3 separate regions of the Homo sapiens genome follow, and all the other regions are linked to region 3. Evidence: promoter capture Hi-C in human tissues and cell types (Jung and others, 2019). All regions are on one chromosome and are shown on one strand. The core of a region is centred on a gene start or on the middle of the fragment in contact, and the rest is flanking DNA. Distances in the headings are between cores, read along the strand shown. Region 1 overlaps FBXW7 (F-box and WD repeat domain containing 7). Region 2 overlaps FBXW7 (F-box and WD repeat domain containing 7). Region 3 holds the start of SH3D19 (SH3 domain containing 19).

Region 1 (3,343 bases), core at 786-3,285, 1.0 Mb before region 3:
AGGAAATTAATCCCAGAATTTTAAACAGTTCTTGAAATGAATACAAGATTAATATATCACACCTATGGGAAATTCTTCTCAAGTCAGGCAAATATATTTGAAAATCACAAACAGCAGCAATAAATATGGATTTGTGTAAAGAAAGCAGAAGAGTGAATAGGGTTTAGGCCTTATATTGAGGGAAATTTGATTTCATTCTTTCTCCATGTTAAATTCTTTCCTGGGTCATATTTGTGGTTTCATTTTTCTTGAAGTCAAACTTACATTTTATACTTTTTTTCCATGATATCTGTCTTACTTTACTGAAGGTATTACTATAAGAAATTCACAATAAAATTTTGAGAGGAAACTTATGAATTCCAAATGCTTATTGGTAGTTTATTTTGGATTTTAAGCATGAAAGATTCATTGCTTTCTGGATAAATCAGTAAACTCCAGGGTGACTTGCTAACTTTGTTGTCAAATTATTGCACTGATGCCGGCTGTCTGTGAAAAAGTAGAGGATGTTGACTTAGTATTAGTCTGACAGCTCTGTAACAATATAAATTTTAGAGGAGCGAATAAAACCCCCATATTATTTTATTCTGTGGCTGGCATAAATAGAACTCTTAACTTGCACTATTGGGTATGAATTATGTATGTGTGTATATTTATATATTTGTAGATAAATACATTTGTGCATGTGTCCATCAGATGACTAATTTGGCCCAATCTGAAGGAATGAAAAAACTTACACTGTTGGAACTAATACTGCAGTTGATTAGTGTGTCACACTAATCAGAGGCTGTGTCTTTGTAAGGAGAGTTTTAAATAGCTTAAACTTCAAGAATTAAAACTTCTGGCCAGGCACGGTGGCTTACCCCTGTAATCCCAGCACCTTGGGAGGCTGAGGCGGGCGGATTACTTGAGGCCAGGAGTTCGAGACTAGCCTGGCCAACATGGTGAAACCCCATCTCTACTAAAAATAGAAAAATTAGTGGGGTGTGGTGGCACACGACTGTAATCCCAGCTACTTGGGAGGCTGAGTCATGAGAACCTCTTGAACCCAGGAAGTGGAGGTTGCAATGAGCCGAGATTGCGCCACTGCACTCTAGCATGGGCAACAGAGTATGACTATGTCTTTAAAAAAAAAAAAGAAAAAACTACTACTTCTGTAATTATATTAAAATTTATTTAAAAGCAGTCAGCTATAACATTTTGATTTGCAGCTTGATTTACAAAGGTTTGGATTATATATATTATAAACATCCCCTTCCCCCCAAAAAATAAGTTTAAGTAAAGTAAGATTATCTATTACAGTGTTTAGTGTTTGGGATTTTTTTCTAAGGCACTAGTGTCACAGTATTTGTTTACTTAGATGGTAGTTTTGAACTAAAGCTGGCTCATCTTGTTTTATTTTACATGTTCTCAAAAATTTTTTAGAACTAATTTCAGTATGAGTTCTAACAGTCAGATGTTTGTGTATATTACGTTACACTATGCTCTTGTGTTAATTGACTGTATTTCCAATGGAGAAAGAACAAAGTTTCAATTGATGTATATAATATTCTGTGCCCAACACAAAGTAGGTGCTAAACAAATGCTTACTGAATGAATAAATATGGAAAATTGCTTATTGGCCAATACTGCCACCTATTTGTGTTAGTGAAAATGTAAATGCTGGGCATATATACTATTCCAGTTGATATCTGTAATAGAACAGGTTTATTAGTTTGCCAGTTTTAATAAGCAAACCTTTTAATAAGCACTCACATCCCAGAAAGTTAATGACAGTGAGTTAGTGAAATTTCAAAAAGTATTTCAGTCTCAACATGCTTGGCATTCCTTTCATTGATGTTGAAATTTTGAACTGTCTGTAATTTTGAACTGTCTGTAATCTAAATTCTGTGCTCAGGGCAAGACAGCTAACTGTGGTGGTTTCCTAGTCCTTTCTAGAGTACAAAGTGTTGTCATGATAATAATAAAATCACTGACATAGGAATATAAACACATTCTCCTACTATTATAAAATGGAAGTGTATTTTTAAATGTTAGCAAGGTAAAGAAAAGAACTAATAGTATTCATAGTATTTTCCACTAATTATAAACTTTTTAGTTGAGTTAAACTTTTTAGTACTGATTGTAATATATGTTTAAGCTTTAGAAAAATAATGCTGTGGTTTCTGATATTTGCTTGTATGGCCAATTCAAAAATATTAATTATTTGTTTTGTATCATTTTCTGGATGCCCTAGAAATAAATTTGAGTAAGATGTGAATCTTTAGGGAGGAGATAGGGGAGAAAGATGTATAAAAATAATGACAATGAACTATGATAACTGCAGTAATAGAACTATATATAAGACGGAAATAATGAACTCTTGAGAGTCAAGGTGAGGTAAAGTACTCTATTAACTACATCCTTTATGTTGACATTATATGTAAAGATAAGTATTTCTCTGAAGATACATGATTCGCTTAAGACCATTTGTGTATATTTTTCTCACTGTATATACACTATTTTTTCTTTCTGCTCACAACCACAACTTGCCCTTCTAAAAACTTAAGTCGTCCCAATTATTTGTTCAGAGCTCTGGTAGGAGCTCACGGGTTAATGATTCTATGGCATCATTCCCCAGAGGCAAACATATCATCATATATTTGTGTTGTTTTTTTTTCCTCGTTACTTCTAACTTCTATGCTAGCACACTAGTTCCACTTCTACACCTAGCACAGTGGAGTTGTGATGAGATGAGCATTGGGTCTGAGTTAGCAGATGGATTTTATTCCAGGACCTTATTGTTGGTCATTCCCTTTGCTAATGGAATTTCAATAATGCTTCTAGGTTGTCAGTCAACACAAGAATTAATTTTTTATAGAATGGGAGAAATGAGTGCCTAGCTGAAATTCCATGAAAATTATTGTAATGAAAATATATTTAATATAGTGAAATAGTAATTCTAAAAATATAGATGACAAACATTTTCTTAGCTGTTTGGTTGACTAACTTAGCTATTTGGTTTCTTAGCTATTTGGTTGACCTTCTTTCCTGTGAACTTACTACTTAATATTTTAGTGTAAGGCATAAAATACTTTAAAAAAACTTATTTAACATAGATAATAGACTGATCTAAAGTTTAAAATGTTTCTTGTCACAGAGATAAGATAGATAAATACAGACACAAACCCATAAAAATTTTTAAATATTATATTACCAAAAACTTAAATCTGAATAAAGTTTCAAACTATATTTTAGCCGAGTGGTATAAATAGAAATGCAAGTGATTTTATTTGCTTTGTTCATATTAAGATTATGATGACAGTAATATAATAGATCACAGTTTTCATTGATAGTACGTCAGAGA
Region 2 (3,413 bases), core at 893-3,392, 1.0 Mb before region 3:
TGTGCTTATATAAATTTATAATGCTTTTGAATAAACAAAACAATAAATAGTGATGGGATCATTTTATACGGATGTAATATTTTCTGAAGAGCCAAACAAATTAAATAAGTAACTTTACTCCAAATTTTAATGAGCTATTAAATTTTATTTAAATCACTTTTCCTTTCTACCCAAAAGTAATCATCTTAAGTGTTTTTCCAGTGTCTGAGAACATTAGTGGGACATACAGGTGGAGTATGGTCATCACAAATGAGAGACAACATCATCATTAGTGGATCTACAGATCGGACACTCAAAGTGTGGAATGCAGAGACTGGAGAATGTATACACACCTTATATGGGCATACTTCCACTGTGCGTTGTATGCATCTTCATGAAAAAAGGTAAGGGAAAATCTTGTCATGGTTGGGACTTCTTCCTCTATTATTGGTGAATTTGGGCCCTTTCTGTGTAGAGTTACTGAAATAGTGACAGTGTGCTCTTAAATTAGATTTAATTATTACACTTCAGATGTTTCTATTCTAGGAAAGCCATAGCGTTTTGTCTTAAAATTGGTGATTGTCTGTAAATTTCCTTTCTCATTTGCTAGTGTTGTCAGCTTCCTGTTTGAAACTCTCTACTCTCTAATCTCTAATCCTTTTTGTTGTTCTGTATCTTTGATGACTCATCATATTCAAGCAGAAATCATGTTTTCTCTCTCTTTTTTTGATATTCTTATTTCCGCAAGTGGGACAAATTCAGGCTTCAAGCGTCTGAGCCTTTTTAAATTACCTACCCACCTTACACCCACCCTATCTCTAAGTCTAGGCAAAAGCTGAGGCCTGTGGGTAATTTGTTCTCTCATTCTGAACTATTGTCACAGCTTTCTAACTTGGTTATCTTATGTTTTATACAGCTGACATATAGTCCTTTTATAATTATGATAGTGTCACTGCCCAGTTCTTAAGTCTTTTTGAGCCTACTGTTGACTAACGAATTAAGGAAGAAATCCTCGATCCAGTTTTCAAAATGGTTTCTGCCAAACTGGACTTTTTGACTTTCTCTTCTCAGTGCCTTTGCTGTTGCTTTTATCTCCTCCTGTAAAGCCCTCCTATTAAAATCCTATCTTTCTATTATCGTCATCATACCCCTGTTAAACAAGTGTGATTTCTACCTCATTTGTCAAAAAAGGTCTCTCTGAAAGGTCCTTACAGTGAATCCATGGCAGTCTTTACCTTTAATTCTGTCTATCGCATCTTCTTTATTAAGAACAATTACATTAAGCAGATTTCACACCAGATTTGTAATATGTGAAAAGGAGTACCTTTTCAATTGTCATTTACCTCTACTTTGAACAGTGTGCTATACTGTTAAAATTTGGGGGATGAGTATCAAGAGACCTTGTATTCCAGTTTCCATTATGTTCTCTCAACATTAGGTTCTCAATTAAAGGGTTCTCTCAACCCTTTAATTATCTACTTTTTTAAAATATGGAAACTGTGGTATTTCTTTATCTCTTCAGAATGACATAAGGATACCTGAGTTTTCAGCTTTGTTTTGTAATCCAAAAGTGATTACAGTATTTGTATATTGCTCTGGTTTTCAGAAGAGTATAGCGCTGATGTTGAACCAAATGTTTAAGGGATAGCCATTGTTTTTAAAGATGTACATATCTTTTAAAATCTTTATCTCTTAATATTTTTATAGCCTATTGCATATTTATAAATCTAATCATTAAAAGCATAAGCAGCCTGTGTTTGAGGACATGTCTAAAACTGGTTAATTTTTACTGGAATGTATAGTGTAAACACAAATCTGCAGCTGTTTAAATTCCAAATTCTGACTTGTTTTGTTGTATAAACTTTATTGAATTTTTTACCTAATCACAAGGGAATATATGCATTCATAATTGAAATTTTGGAAAATGGCAAAGAACATAAAGAAAATTTAAATTCTTTAAACCACTACCACCTAGAGTTCTCCCATTAACATTTTATACATATGCCCACATTAACATTTTATTTCTAAAATCAAAATCTTATTGTATATATTTAGAGGCAGCTTCTGCTGCTTTTTAAAAAATACAGTACAGTGGTTTTCAAACTCAGTCCCACAGAACCTTAAGGTGCTGAACCTAAGGTCCCCAGGTCAGGGAACCAAGCATGCAGCATTCTAGGCTTCCCAACTTCCCATTCCCTTATTATGTTTATATACCAAGGTTTTACATAGGATTTCTTTTGAAAATGGTTGTTGCTGTGTAAAAAAAAAAAAAAAAAAGCTAAAAAACCTTGACTAAATCTACCATGTTTTCTCATATTATTAAAAATTCTAAACGTGGGTTTTTTTGTTTTGTTTTGTTTTTCTGTTTCTCCCTCTGCAGAGTTGTTAGCGGTTCTCGAGATGCCACTCTTAGGGTTTGGGATATTGAGACAGGCCAGTGTTTACATGTTTTGATGGGTCATGTTGCAGCAGTCCGCTGTGTTCAATATGATGGCAGGAGGGTTGTTAGTGGAGCATATGATTTTATGGTAAAGGTGTGGGATCCAGAGACTGAAACCTGTCTACACACGTTGCAGGGGCATACTAATAGAGTCTATTCATTACAGGTAAGATCTCTTATCTCTCCCTTAAATGCTCTCCTGATGAATCATAAGGTTGTTTTACTCAGATAATCACTGTCAAATTGCTGATCCAGTACAGTCCAAAAAAGATTAATCAGATTATTCTGCTGTTTTTATATACGTTAAAATTGGCATGAAGAAAGTGTAAATTTCAAAATTATTTAAATGCTTTCAATTTTCTGTGATCTATTTCTCCTCTAAATACAAATATTTGTTTTGCAACCTGACACTTTGGGGCTCTAAGTTTTGCTATGTTAATTAATGGTTAAATAGTCTCATAGGAGAGTAACCTGGATTTTAAGAAACTCCTTTGCAGAAGATTAATATGGCCAAAAGCTGCCCCTTTGCTTTGATAGCTGAAAGTTGATGGACCATGTAATTGTGATTCCATCCCCATTCAAAGTGGAAATAGATCCTTTCTGCATAAAGCACTCTACTGTCCCAGGCCCACTGATTTGTAGTCATAAAGAAGTAAAGTTGACTAAACCGATTTCTTTTTTTTGGTTTATATTTCAAGCCCATATCCTTGAAAACATTGCCATATTTTGAGATCATTAACTAGATGAATAGGAAGTTTAGAATATGAATCTTGTTTTATTTCCAGAAAGGCAACATTTTTAATGTAAAAATATTTCCTATAGCTTATATAGTTTATTTACCAGTTATTACCCATTAATGTTCAGCAAATTAGTACATAATCTTAGTACTGTCAATTCTGTTCTTAGGATATTTGTTTCTTTGTCAAAGGGATATTGTCCATGTCATGAAATATTGACAATATGATAAAAATGTTTGCTAAATTAGAAAAGGTGA
Region 3 (3,598 bases), core at 344-2,843:
ATTTTCAGTGACCCTTTTCTCCCTTTCTTTTTCTCTCCTACTTGCTGAACATTAGGAGCTCTTGGTAATCTCTCAGAAATAGAGCAAGACGCCAAAGATAAAGGCCTGTTCATCGCACTCAGGAATTTCCTAAGGTTTCATGTCCAGGTAATATTTCTGCCTGCTACTTGGGTATCTTTTGGTGAAATTCCAGAATCTTTTCCTCTCTGTGTGAAAGTAAGTACGTGCACCTACTGAACCTAAGATGTGTATTGTGCAGGTACACACAACTTTGGTTACACGGTTCTTTCCAGCTTTGAAAAACTTTCTTAGGGGTAGCTCACACAGCTAAGTGCTTCAAATTACAGTTTCTGACTCCAGAGCCAGTGGTCTCTCCACTTCCCCTAGTTGCCTCTCTACAAATAATCACGTATGGGTCTCTTTAACACATTTCTTCCTGTTCTTCTAGGAATTGTAGCCATATCCTAGCCCTAAATGAACTGGAATACAGTGAGGCTTGATTTATTATTAAACATTTTTATTAGACTTTTTTTTTTTTTCGAGAAGGACTCTCGCTCTGTTGCCCAGGCTGGAGTGCAGTGGTGCGATCTCCGTTCACTGCAAGCTCTGCCTCCTGGGTTCAGGCCAGTCTCTTGCCTCAGCCTCCCGAGTAGCTGGGACTACAGGCGCCCGCCACCACGCCTGGCTATTTTTTTTTTTTTTTGTATTTTTAGTAAAGACGGGGTTTCACCGTGTTAGCCAGGATGGTCTCGATATCCTGACCTCGTGATCTGCCCGCCTCGACCTCCCAAAGGGCTGGGATTACAGGCATGAGCCACCGCTTCCAGTCTTACTAGACTATTTTTAAGAACAGTTTTAGGTTCACAGCAAAATTGAGCTAAAGGTACAGAGATTTCCCATGTACCCCCTGCTCCCACACATGCATAGCCTCCCCCATTATCAACATCCCCCACCAGAGTGCCACAGTTGCTACAATTGATGAACCCACATTGACACCTCATAATCACCCAAAGTCTATAGTTTACATTGCGGTTCACTCTTGGTTTTGTACATTCTTTGGGCTTGGACAAAGGCATCCGCTATTACAGAATCATACGCATAGTAGTTTCACTGCCCTAAAAATCCTCTGTGCTCCCGCAAGTCTAGGTTTTTAAGGGCGAAAAGAGAGGGAAAGAAAAAAGTGTGCATTGCAGAGGCTCGACCCAACTCCAAGCCAAGTTTGTTCCAAAGTTCAGCAGCTCCCAGCTGTCCCATCTCTCCCAGTTCGGCCCCGGTCGGGTTCCTCCTCTTTTTGTTTAAGTGTCAAACAAATGGGTTTCCTGTTGACACTGGAATATCGTGAAAAGGCAGGAAGAGGCCAGGCCACCTCCTCTTTCCCCTCTTCCTATCCCGTTTATTTATTTTGCACACGTTTGTTTGGGTCGAGCTGGTGTTTCCAGCGTGTGTGGCTGTGGGGCGGCCTTAGGGGCCGATAACCCCTCCCTGAGGAGGCGAGGCCAGCCCCGAACCCGCCCGATCCGCGGTGGAGCTCTACGGGGCGGGGAAGGCAAAGAGGAAGGGGGAAGAGAGCGGGAGTGGGAGTGGGAAAGGCCAGGGATTAAGAGGCCGCCGGGACGCCGCAAGGAGGCGGGGAATCGGCTCGGCCCGCGCCCTGCCGCTGCCCGGCCGGCTGCAGGTGGAGTTCGCGGAGGTGGCCATTTCCACAGCCGCCGCCGACGCCTCCTCTCCGGGAGCCGCCTTCCCCCCGGCCCGAGGGCGGTGGCGTGGGGCGCCGGGTGCAGGCGTTCTGGGGCGCCGGGGCCGCAGCTCGCTGGCCATCCCGCGGCTGCGCCCCGCGCCTCGCCCATGGCTGAGGGCCGGCGGCGGGAGGACGAGGAGGAAGAGCTACGCGAGCGCCGCGAACTTGGTGGCCAGCGCCGCGCCCGGGGCCGTGCGCTCTCGGGCCACTCGGCCGCAGGTGAGAGGCGCGGGGGACGGGGCGGCGGGGACCCAGAGCTGCGCGCTCTGGGGCCGCTCGGGTCCTGCCCCACACAGCGGCAGCTCCTTCACGCGCCGGGATGGGACCGGCTTCTTTAACTCTCAGAGGCCAGACTCGGGGAGGGTGGCATTTCCATCGCCATCCTCACTTTCCGGCCGAGCCCGAGGAAATTCAGACCCGTCTTTAACTGCTAGTGGTCGTACAGCTGAAACTCAAATTTTCCGTGCACACTAAATCCAGGAGCTGCTGGCTTGGGACTTGTGGCCTGGTTGATGACTTATCTCTGGATGAGTCAGAGGTCAATGGCCGTCTCGGTGGACAACGACACCTTCCGAGGGGTTTGCCTGCGCCGCCGCAGCCAGGTCAGAGCACGTGCTCATAACTGAGGCAAGTCCTGTTTCGGCGTCCCTTGCACTTCGGACCTGTGACCCCCCTCCCTCCCTCCCCCAGCCGCCGAGCTCACCAGTTTTCTGTAGGACTTGTTTTCGTTAGTTGTGAGACCCTCCCCCACGCAAAGAGAAGTCCAGAATATAGCATTCCAAAAGGCCATTCATTTGGGCTGAGAATCATTTTCGGGCCTGTAATTACTTTTATGATACTGTGTTTTGGGTACACAAAAGCGGCACGGATCAAATAGTTTGGCACATTAGTGAAAGAGTGAATAAGTGTAGATCCACACCCCTTCCCTCTTCCGGGCGGCTTTTCAATCAAACATAATAGAGAGGACATTCTTTGGCCTTTGGTTCCAACTGGGTAATCCGAGTTATCTGAAAACAAGAGGGAAGAACAAACCTAGGGGGACTGGCAACAAAAGGGAGATAGGGAAGTGAGAGAGTCGGAGGAGAACGATTCACTGAGAGCCTCATTATAAAGTGGAATATAGCGAATATTCCATGAAGTGGAGAAGCTTTTCTGTGTGACTCCCTTAACCACTAAGAGAAAGTTGGAAAAATAGAGAAGATATTGTATCTGTGCGGAACAAATGGAGGGTAGAAAGTAGGATGAAAGGAAAACTTGAGAAGAACATCTTGAAGAAATAGTCAATTTAATGCCTTTGGTAGAATCTTGGAACATAAAAATAATTCTCCATGCTCATTATTACAACTTTTCATCAAAATAAGGCATTTGGCTGTCTATATGAACACCAGTTTTGAACATAATTGGTAATTTTGTTCAGTGTAAACCCAAACCTTGTGAAATAATGAATAGTTGCTGGATATAAGTGAATATTTCTTGCAAGAGTACAATGAAAAAACTTTACAAAGATATACCGCCATGCCTGACCTATGGATTTAAACAGGGTAGGCCACCTTAGATTCCTGTTACCTTCAGCAGAAAGCTTCATTCTCACAAGAGACTGTACAGTGAAGACCTGTTTTGGAGTTCAGACTAGATGTGATCCAGATGTGTGTTTATCATTTAGTTGCAATATGTGTATTTATTCCAAAGCTGGTGGAAATGACATTTTGTAATTAGTTTTCACCAGTTCCCTAATTTCTCAAGGTTGACAAAGGCTTTTCTAGGTTCTTTGATAATATTTTGCTGAGACATGACATTGTGTACTTTTTGCATTCAGTAATTGGTGTTTGTAGTTTTCTAACCATTTATATGCCCTTTTTC

What was found. Contacts are between HindIII fragments. The study calls those that stand out against the background at their distance.
Region 1: a fragment that was not itself captured here is called in contact with the fragment with the promoter of SH3D19 in region 3 in 1 of the 25 tissues and cell types used here (dorsolateral prefrontal cortex).
Region 2: a contact is called between a fragment that was not itself captured here and the fragment with the promoter of SH3D19 in region 3, in 1 of the 25 tissues and cell types used here (dorsolateral prefrontal cortex).

The regions. Positions count from the first base shown.
Region 1 is chr4:152,355,118-152,358,460 of GRCh38, reverse strand. The region is part of intron 4 of FBXW7 (F-box and WD repeat domain containing 7); the gene reads left to right. Among named protein-coding and RNA genes, the nearest start is that of FBXW7-AS1, 19 kb to the right of the region's middle. The HindIII fragment of the contact is 5,495 bases long and covers 1-3,343 here.
Region 2 is chr4:152,325,178-152,328,590 of GRCh38, reverse strand. It overlaps FBXW7 (F-box and WD repeat domain containing 7), which reads left to right. Exons shown (of 14, transcript NM_001349798.2): 11 at 202-383; 12 at 2,360-2,585. Among named protein-coding and RNA genes, the nearest start is that of FBXW7-AS1, 11 kb to the left of the region's middle. The HindIII fragment of the contact is 8,165 bases long and covers 1-3,413 here.
Region 3 is chr4:151,323,600-151,327,197 of GRCh38, reverse strand. It overlaps SH3D19 (SH3 domain containing 19), which reads left to right and starts at 1,593. Exons shown (of 20, transcript NM_001378122.1): 1 at 1,593-1,957. The coding sequence starts at 1,846. The HindIII fragment of the contact is 31,894 bases long and covers 1-3,101 here.